2 separate regions of the Homo sapiens genome follow, and region 1 is linked to region 2. Evidence: promoter capture Hi-C in 16 types of primary human blood cells and fetal thymus (Javierre and others, 2016). All regions are on one chromosome and are shown on one strand. Each heading gives the region's core, a stretch centred on a gene start or on the middle of the fragment in contact. The rest is flanking DNA. Distances are from core to core; before and after follow the strand shown. Region 1 overlaps SPOCD1 (SPOC domain containing 1). Region 2 holds the start of KHDRBS1 (KH RNA binding domain containing, signal transduction associated 1).

Evidence for each region. Contacts are between HindIII fragments. The CHiCAGO score rates a contact against its expected background, and 5 or more counts as called.
Region 1: a contact is called between a fragment that was not itself captured here and the fragment with the promoter of KHDRBS1 in region 2, in 3 of 17 cell types (fetal thymus, activated CD4 T cells and naive CD4 T cells). The highest score is 7.0, in fetal thymus.

What each region holds. Positions count from the first base shown.
Region 1 is chr1:31,786,796-31,792,168 of GRCh38, forward strand. It overlaps SPOCD1 (SPOC domain containing 1), which reads right to left. Exons shown (of 16, transcript NM_144569.7): 16 at 3,627-4,496. The coding sequence ends at 3,808. Among named protein-coding and RNA genes, the nearest start is that of ADGRB2, 25 kb to the left of the region's middle. RefSeq lists an enhancer at 1,367-2,142 and silencers at 1,928-1,977, 2,308-2,597. The HindIII fragment of the contact is 2,297 bases long and covers 2,923-5,219 here.
Region 2 is chr1:32,011,041-32,015,741 of GRCh38, forward strand. KHDRBS1 (KH RNA binding domain containing, signal transduction associated 1) reads left to right here and starts at 2,828. Exons shown (of 9, transcript NM_006559.3): 1 at 2,828-3,337. The coding sequence starts at 2,956. RefSeq lists silencers at 3,037-3,246, 3,727-3,836 and an enhancer at 3,063-3,633. The HindIII fragment of the contact is 9,365 bases long and covers 1,091-4,701 here.

The DNA.
Region 1 (5,373 bases), core at 2,821-5,320, 220 kb before region 2:
CCCCCAGAGTGGGACACAGGCGGGCCAGCCGGACACTGCCAGGCTCACAGCCTGTCCCTGGAACCCTCACCTGTGGAGCACAGTTGGCTGGCCCACCGCCATCCACCAGCAGACAGCAGTCTTGCATACAGCAGTCAGAGTGACAACTGCAGAGTATGGTCTCCATGCAGTCCTACCTCCTCCAGGAAGCCACTCAACCCCTTGGAACCCAGTTCTTACATCCCTGTCCATCACCAACAATCTTCCTCCACACAGGATAGGAGCCAACCCCAGTTTTTAAATGAACAAGAGCCTCCAGGAATTCTGCTGCTCCTATCCAGCACACTTAAGGGGTCCCTCTCGGCTTCTGCTTGCACAGTGCAAAGAACAGGGAACTCCCTCCATGGCACTGTTACATAGCTGCAGCAACGAGAAGGTTCTCCATACTGAGCTGACTTATTACCCCCCACACAAGTTGAAACAGAGGAGTCCTTACTGCCTACAACAGGGAAACTGAGGCTCAGAAAGGGCAAGGGGGTGGCCCCAGGGTTCCCCAGTCCTCTCTGGTAAAGGAACAGACATGTGGCTCTCCAAGCAGTTTCTGCTCTCAGTCTCCCTTCCATCCCAGTCCTGCTCCATCCCAAACACCTCAGTCCTGGAAGGTACTTCCTTAGCCACCACCTGCTCTGCCCTGGTCTTCGGGCCTCCCAAGCTCAGCTGTCACTGCTACAGCCGTCTCAGGCTCCAGGCCTTTGGGACAAGAAAGCAAGTTTTCTGGAAACCAGTGGGCTCCCTGAGAGAGACAAGGGTATAAGGGGGAGGCGGTAGGAGGGTCCACACTCACCAACCTGACCTCCAGCTTCCAAGAAGGACAAATAGAGAAAACAATAGTCCTCATCCTGTGCATCAAATCCAGTCTGCCCTGACATCTGGAAGTTCTTCTGGTGTCTAGTTGTCATGTCTTAAGCGGCAACTGAAGTTGATTTGCTTTGGTTGGGTTCTGAGAAGAGTTGGGCTCCAGGGAGGGAGGAAGGGAGCACCACTGAGTGCCTACTGTAGGCCAGAAAGCAGCAATTAGTGTGTGTAAAAGTGGCAACCAGTTAAACCCTCCCATCACCTGGTAAGTTAGAGATTAGTATCCCTGTTTACAGAGAAGAAAACTGAGCCACAGAGAGGGTAACTAAACTTGTCAAGGCCACACAGCCAGAAAAGGAATTGGAGTGCCAACAAGGCCTGGCATTGCTTGGGAAGCTGGGTGTCTTCAGTCAGGGATATCTGGATGGATTCATGCTAAGGGTTCAATAAGGGGACGTGGGGAAAGGGAACTGATGGTCACTGTCACAGCTCACTCATCCACCCCACATCTGAGAACATGGACAGGCTAAACACTCACGCATGCGCAGCCCACATGCCTATCAGACGGGATGAGGAAGAAGCAAAGAGAACCGTCCAGGGATAGTTGCCCAAACAAGTTCCGGCCCCGCCTCTATGTTAATGACATGCAGATATATGTAAATTTGTACAAGCAACCGCTCAAACCTTTGGGAGCAATGGGGTGACACAGGAGCAGTTGCTATGGAAATCCAAAAGCGATACCCGCTCTGCACCCCCACCCCCCTCACAGGCAGGCGCACAGACACGTGCACAAAGACGCAGGGTTCTTCACTCCGGAGCCAAGAGGATCACGGAGTGGCAGAGTGTGAACCGGAAGGACCCTCAGAAACTGCGTCCAGCCGGGGGAAGCTCAGGCCCGAAGAAAGTCACCGGGAGAGCAGTGTCGCGATCCCTGGTAGCCTGGGGCGCCTTCCACTAAAACCCAGGGCGCGAGGTGTCCCTTCCGGGTCCCGGGCGATTCCGGCTCCGGCCTAGCAACAACAAGCCCCGCCCAGCGTTGCATAGCAACGTCCCTGGAGCCTAGCAACCGTCAGTCACGCCCCCTAGCAACGTCATGCCTAATCCTCGCTCCAGGCTTCTGCCGAGAGAGAGAGGGGCAAGGGGCTCGTGGACTGGGGCCAAAAGGTGGCGGGGGTGGGGGAGGGTGTCATGTTTAGCAGGCTGCAGGATTTCGGGGCCCACCTACAGCCCTTCCACGGGCGAGCTGTTACAGAGCCGCGTTATCACCCCCATTTACAGAAGGGAAAACTGAAGCTCCCAAAGGAAATCCCTGCCCAGGGTACAGAGCTCGCTCTTGCCTGCGTGTTCCAGGAGAGCGGCTCTGGCGGCTCTCCGGAGGAAGCCCTGGACCTGGAGGGGAGGGAGTGCACACCCGTTTCCCTCCATACCAACTGCATTAGGAAAACCACCCAAACTGTGGGCTCAGAACCAAGCTGTAGGTTTGCATAGTAATTTGCGTCATTTGCATAGAGCGCGGAGGCTGCGGCGCTCCCAGGCCATTTCGAGCCGGAAAAGTTCCCGAAGGAGCCCCGCTCCCTCTCCCGGTTCAACTGTCCAGCCCCCTCTCCCTACCCCTCACCCGCACCCCACCCGCATCCTACCCCGCCCCCGCTTCCAACTCCTTGCGCTAAGTTCCCGCACCTCGCCCCACCCCCCGCTTTGACTCCGGTCCTGCCAGCCCCGACCTCCATCCCAAGGCCGAGGGCCCCCTCTGCTGTCGTCCGCGGGTAGGGCAGCCGCAGAGCTCATGGGGCAGAGAAGAAGGGCTCCCCCAACCGACCATCGCCCCACCCCTTCCAGTCCAGCAGGGGCCAGGGTGAGGCCTGTACATGGGTGGACTTTGCGAAGGGGTGAGCAAAGAGCGGGTAGGGCCCTTCTGGCCCCGGGGCGAAGGGTGGGGTTCTAGAGAGGTTCTCTCCTGGAAGCCAGGCCCCTTTCCCCACGCTGGGTTGGTTGGCCCTGGCAGCTGGTTCCCCCATCAGTCCGCAGATGCAGCTCTCTCGAGGTACACCCCACATGAAACGCTTGACAGTTGCAGTTGCTGTTAGAAGCTTGTTCTAGGCCCAAGGCAAGGCAGCACCGTCCAACCCTAATACCAGTCTCCAACCCCACCCTGAATGCCCACCACCAAGGCTAAGACCTTTGACATTTTCTAACACCAGTCTCTGGAATCTGGCAAGAGATACAGAGAGGAGTCACCCAATCTGGATCTCCTGACTTCCTCAACAGAGACCTACACACAGGCAGGCCATGAAACTCACACAGATACTCTCACATGCTTGCAGGCACACTAGTGCACAGAGATCCCTGAGAAGCACATAGACAGAGACTCGGAGGGAATATGGTGAAGGTATGTACTATCCTTCCCCATCTAGTCAAAGGAAAAAAAAATCTTAGTATTAACTGAAAAATTTAAAGTCCACTGCAACTTGCTTATCTTTTCCTCTCTAGCAATCTCTTGATGTCTGATGTCTGTGACCCTCCAAAAGGCTCTGTCCATTTCTCTCTCCACCCCCAACCTCGGTCCTACTTTCTTTCCCACCACCACCTCTTCCTCCTGGTTCAGAATACTTGCAAAATGCTTCCAGAAACCACCGTGGCAATAGCTGTGCCCTGGGGCGCAGTGATGGTTCAGGACCTCAGACCAGCAATGAGCAAGGCTGCACATTTGTGCACAAGACACTCACTGACACACCCACTCAACCCACATCTGACCAGGACCAGGGGCTCTCCTGACCAGCTAGCAGATGCAATCCCAATTTTACCAAATTCTTTATTGAACAAAAAATCAACAGCAAACATTGTCAAACAGGAAGTTCAAACAGGGCAGGTGGGTAGGGCTGACCATCCTCTCCTTGCAGTCCCACCTCTCTCTGGAACAGGCTTCAACACTAGTGAGGGCATCAAAACCCCTGTTCTGGTGGGTAAGGAGGGTCAGGCCTTTCTAGGGAAGGGACACTCAGAGCCAGCTTCATCTGTAGGCCCCAAAGAGGAGTCACGGGCTGGGCCAGGGGGCTCTGGAGCTGCAAGGGCGCTAGACAAACGCTGCAGAGGGCGGGGGATGGAGCTCTTGGTCTGGGGGCACAGTAAGGCTTGGAGCTGGTGACTCATGGTCGCCAGGGATTCGAGGTGCCGGAGCAGGGCTTGGTGGGGACAGGAGTCCCTGTGGAAGTGCTGGCCACGGCCAAAGCCATGACCAGCTGGTGCTACTGAATAGGGATGCTGGGACTGGCGCAAGCCTGGCTCTGGGGGCCACTGCCCTCGCCCAGGATGCTGCCAGTTTTCAGGCTCTGGCCAGAGCCTCCCCCTGCCTCTGGGGGGCCTCTGCCAAGCAGAGATTCCCCTTGGAGCTATACTGCCCCTGCCCTGGCTCTGCTGCCAGGCACCTCCTGGGGGAGGGGTGCCCTTCAGGGGCACATTCGGCCTCCTGTCATCTGGCTGATAGTATCTCTTCTCCACCTTACTGTTGAAGGAGACCATCTTTTGAACCTTCCCCAACCAGGGGCTGGACCCTGCTGTGTCTGGAAGCCCTTCCTTGGGGAGCAGCACAGCCAGCAACAGACTTGAGTGAGTGACCTCCAGACCTGGGGAAAGGAGAGGGGAGACAGGAAGAGCCCAAAGGCCTGCGGGGAAGAACTGTGTTCAGCTTAGCTGCAGCAGATCTGGAGCCTACATCCCAGGAAGGGCTTCTTCACAGTGAGATGGGGCCCATGAGATGCTGGGAAAAGTAAGTAGGAAGGTGGGGCTGTCTCGGAAGATTTGAGCTCTGCGGGATCAAGGCTTATCTGGCTGAGGCTGGGGTATGGATTGTTTGACCTGAAGACTCTACAGACTCAAAGTCTACCTCATTGTCTCAGGACATGGAGCCCCAAAAGGCCAAGCGCTTTGCTCAGGAGTGGGCAAAGCGCCCACTGCCAACCTCGCTGCTTTCCTGAGCCACGCCGTGGAGGGTGTCCATGCACAGAGGCCGAGCTCGGCCCCCCGTGGCTGTGGCGAAACATCCCTCCCTCCTCTCTGAGGTGACATTTACAGTCAAGTGTGTGTAGGTCCTGACTCTGTCCTGCTGCCTGGGTCAAATGTGGCTGTCCCTGGAGTTTCTCTTCAGGGGTGCCTACCTTGAGAGGCAGTGTGGTGTGGTGGTTAGGGGCCAGGTTTCTGAAGCCATGTTGTGCTTCACACAACGTGTGAACAGAGTGAAGCCCAGTTCTGCTGTTGACTGACTGTGTGACTTTGGACAAGTCATTTGCCTTCTTCCTCCCTCAGATTCTTCTTCTATGAGATGGACAGTCTAGTCTAATAGTACCATTCTCATAGGGTGATGAGACTACAAGAATTCATCTAGGTAAAGCTTTTAGAACAATGGCTGGCATGCAGTTCATGATATCCAAGCGTGAGCTATTACTGTCATTGTACTCACATTTGCCTGGCTGGGTGAGGAGTTCCCTTCTGAGATGTGCCTGCCTCTACTGGGTGACTGTGTCAACCGTGCCTGGTCTGGTC
Region 2 (4,701 bases), core at 1,578-4,077:
CCACCTATTCCTTCAAGTCTGACACTGGATTACTCCCATTCCCTGAACACATTTCCCACGTTCTCATCTCTGCTCATTTATTCCACTTCCCTTTGCCTGGAACTTATTCTTCCTTGGCCAAAATCTATCTTCTGCATTGAACTCCAACAGCACTTAATTTTTTCGTTTCTTTTTTCTTTTTGACACGGAGTCTGACTCTGTTGCCCAGGCTGGAGTGCAGTGTGGCGCGATCTCGGCTCACTGTAACCTCCACCTCCCGGGTTCAAGCAATTCTTCTGCCTCAGCCTCCCAAGTAGCTGGGATTACAGGTGCATGCCACCACGTTCAGCTAACTTTTTTATGTTTTTAGTAGAGATGGGGTTTCACTGTATTAGCCAGGCTGGTCTTGAACTCCTGACCTCAGGTGATCTACCCACTTTGGCCTCCCAAAGTGCTGGGATTACAGGAGTGGGCCACCGCACTGGCCTTTTTTTTTTTTTTTTTTTTTTTTTTTTTTTTTTTTTTGAGACAAGGTCTCACTCTGTCGTCCAGGCTGAGTGCAGTGGGGCAGTCGTTGCTCACTGTAGTCTCAATTTCCCAGGCTCAAGCAGCAATCTTCCCACCTCAGTCTCTCAAGTAGCTGGGGACAACAGGTGCACGCCACCACACTCAGCTAATTTCTTTCTTTCTTTCTTTTTTTTCCCAAGACAGAGTCTCGCACTGTCCCCCAGGCTGGAGTGCAGTGCTGCAATCTCAGCTCACTGCAACCTCCGCCTCCTGGGTTCAAGCGATTCTTCTGCCTCAGCCTCCTGAGTAGCTGGGACTACAGGCACACCACCACACCCAGCTAATTTTTGTATTTTTAGTAGAGACGGGGTTTCACAATGTTGGCCAGGATGGTCTCGATCTCTTGACCTTGTGATCTGCCCGCCTCGGTTTCCCAAAGTGCTGGGATTACAAGCATGAGCCATCGCATCTGGCCTATATTTTATATTATATATATATAATTTATGTAGATACGTGTTTTGTTTTCATTTCTGTGGGTAATTTGGAAATCCTCTCCCTTAACCCCTTAAAGAAGGCCTTTAGGTTCTCTAGTTAAAGGGTTCTAAGCTTCACATCCAAAAATCAAGTTTCCAGGCACTCAGAAGACAATTTCCAAATAAACCTTTTTTTCCTTTTTTTTTTTTTTTGAGACGTAGTCTCGCTCTGTTGCCCAGGCTGGAGTGCAGTGGCGTGATCTCGGCTCACGGCAGCCTCCGCGTCCCTGGTTCAAGCAATTCTCCTGCCTCAGCCTCCCAAGTAGCTGGGATTACAGGTATGCACCACCACACCCGGCTAATTTTTATATTTTTAGTAAAGATGGGGTTTCATCATGTTGGCCAAGTTGGTCTCGAACTCCTGGCCTCAGGTGATTTGCCCACCTCGGCCTCCCAAAGTGTTGGGATCACAGGCATGAGCCACCAAGCCGGGCGGAAACTTTTTTTATTGTAGAGATGAGGTCTCATTATATTGTCCAGGCTGCTCTCGAACTCCTAGCCTCAAGTAATCCTCCCACCTAGGCCTCCCAAAGTGCTGGGATTACAGGCATAAGCCACCGCACCGGTCCCCAAAGACTTTTGAAAAGTGTGGGCTCATTAGGAGAACTAATCCAGAAGGAAAAGAGATGGGAGTGAGTGCTTTAAATGGAAGAAGAAAATAATCTGCGGAGGGAAGGGAAAGTTAGAGAGGGCACCAGGCTTTTGATGGCTTATGGGACAAGTAGGGACCTAAGGCTCCACTTGCATATAGCACACCAGGATGTGGAGAACGTCGTAGGCGACTGTCCACTATGTACCTTGCCTTTGAGAGTAGTGGCAAGGGTCTCTTTGAGCAAGTCTGGAGTGGTAGAAGAAGCCATCCTAATGATGCAACCAACGTGGATTAAGGATCTGGTCTCTACCTCACTTTTTGAAGGAAGAAACACTTAATTGGCAATAATGACGGCGAAACAAAACAAACACAATTCAGAAAAAGCAGTAAAATATGTAAAAAGAGCTAAAATGCTGCTTAAGATTTCCCGTACCAACAATGTCAACCGTTTTAGAACCGACTGGAATATATGTAATACTGGAAATATATATACTGGAAACAACTTCTTGTGTTCCCTGATGTCTGGGACCCTTTTCTTTGCTAGACTTCAGATCTCTGATCTGAACCATCCCTCTTAGTTCAAGTACTCCAATCGCCTTCAGTGTTTCCACCAAGCCGTCCTTCCTCAATTTCTCCCTCCAGGTTTCCCTTCCCCAACTTTCCCCCTGCATCAGACTCTCCCTCAGCCTTCCTTTCTCCCTGTGCAGTCTGTCTCACTCCTGTCTTCCTCCCCAGGCGGTCTCAATTCTCTCTCCCTCCCCTTTCCGTGACCCTCTCGGCAGTCTTTTACTTCCTTACTTCGGTGACCGCCCCCCACCCCACTCCCCACAGCCTCCCTCCACTGCTCAGCCGTTGGAGAGGGCGTGGCCCCGCGAGTAACAGGTCTCCCGCCCCACACTCCGCGGGCCCGCGCGCAGACAAAGACATTCCACAGCTCCCGCCCCCTCCACGCCAGAAAGGGGAGGAGACACGTGTTCCGCTAGCGCCGAGTCACGTGGAAAACGAAACGAACGGAGCCCACTGCCTCCCGCGCATGCGCATCAAGCTCTGGCCTGGCGGGAGCGGAGGGAAAGCCAGAGTCGGGAGGCGACTTCTCGGACGCCGCGGCGGTGCGCAGGCGCCGTGGCCGGACTGGGGACTTTGTTCTCCGCGGAGAAACCCAAGGGCGGTGCCGGTGGCTGGCTGCGCACGCGCGCCGCCTCATTTCCGGTGCTCTCTCTCGCTGGGTCGCTCGGGTCGGCTTCGGTCGCTACCGCTCCCGCTCTGCCACCCCCGCCAACCGCCGCTCGGGCCTCCGTCGCTGCCGCGTCGCTTTCTCGCTCCTTGGATCGCACATCCTCCCAGATGCAGCGCCGGGACGACCCCGCCGCGCGCATGAGCCGGTCTTCGGGCCGTAGCGGCTCCATGGACCCCTCCGGTGCCCACCCCTCGGTGCGTCAGACGCCGTCTCGGCAGCCGCCGCTGCCTCACCGGTCCCGGGGAGGCGGAGGGGGATCCCGCGGGGGCGCCCGGGCCTCGCCCGCCACGCAGCCGCCACCGCTGCTGCCGCCCTCGGCCACGGGTCCCGACGCGACAGTGGGCGGGCCAGCGCCGACCCCGCTGCTGCCCCCCTCGGCCACAGCCTCGGTCAAGATGGAGCCAGAGAACAAGTACCTGCCCGAACTCATGGCCGAGAAGGACTCGCTCGACCCGTCCTTCACTCACGCCATGCAGCTGCTGACGGCAGGTAAGGGGGCCTCCCGTGTCCCTCTGGGTCGCCCGGCCATCCCGGGCATGAGTGGCCCTGGCTTTGTTCCTCTCGCTTCCCGCCCCCTCGGGACCGAGGCAGTCGGGAGTTCCGGTCTCATCCTCATTTTTGGGAGCCTGGATTCCACATTCCCACCTCAGCCCGGAGTGCGTGGGAGAATTTCTAGGCTGCAGTGGAGGCCCGAAGGCGACTTTGCGATCCCCTAGCGCTAATGTCTTGATGGATAGTGCTGAGCTCCCCGCCCCTTTCCCGACTCTTCCCTCCTCCCTCCTCTTGCGGCTGCCGGGCGCGCAGATTCTTCCAGAAATGAACCTTCATTTCCCCCTTTCCCTGAAGGGAAACCCTTTTTGATCGCGGGTGGCGATGAGCGCCTCGACCGAGGTGTAGGAGGTGAAGACAGCCAGAGCGGGGAGGGACCGTGGGAGGAAGGGCCGAGGTGAGGTGGGGTGAGGCTGGAATGCCCTGTCCAGTGCCTTGCTGTCGCTGGGGCCGAGCCGGACTTAGCGGTAACCGCAGCTTAAGTTGCTGGGAGGAAGGAGCGATTTATGTGGATCGGAGCTTGAGGTTTCCGAATCAGATTTCCGACTAAGGCTGATAAAATAAGAATTGCTACTGAGCCATTTTACACCGTGTGTTCACTGTCGTTGAAGGAGTGAAGTAACCCTAGAGACAGTGAAATGGGACGATAGGGACTCCCGCGTAGTTCACATGACGTTTCCCAACGAGATGGACAGAAATTGAGAGAAGTTGCATGATGCTTGTACTGAAAGGCTTGGCCTTTTTGTTGCTGTTTTTTACATTTTTGATTCAGTAGTGAAATAGATTAGAAATGAGAGTCTTTGTTCTGTAGGTTAGCGCTCTTTTCCTCATCAGCACTGGCCAATCACCTAGTCGCTCTGATTTTTCCCTAAAGCTGTCTGACTTTCGCTTCTAGTTAAAATATTATTTTAATATTTTTTATGATACCTAAATTTTACTAAGCAAGTAAAAATTCACATCCTTCAACACTGAATGAGTAGTTGGACTCTTTGGCAAGGTTAATATAATGGACAGTTCATTATGAAAATATTATCTCCCTCCCTTTGTTCTCTGTCTCCCAACACTGTAAGGTAAGGGATCTTTACCAGTGTGGTGTTCATCTTTTATGCTTTCTTAAGATAACTGTCAAAAACTGTTGATCCTTAAAAGTTACTTTTAATTTTCAGTCTCCCCTCACTGCTTAACTAAGAGAGTGCTCTTTATTTTTAACTTGGGCTTTCTGGATGTATTTTTTTTAAACCCAACTGAAATTGGAGAAATGTGATTGAGGTTACTGTTGGTTTGGGATGTATGAATTCTTTCTA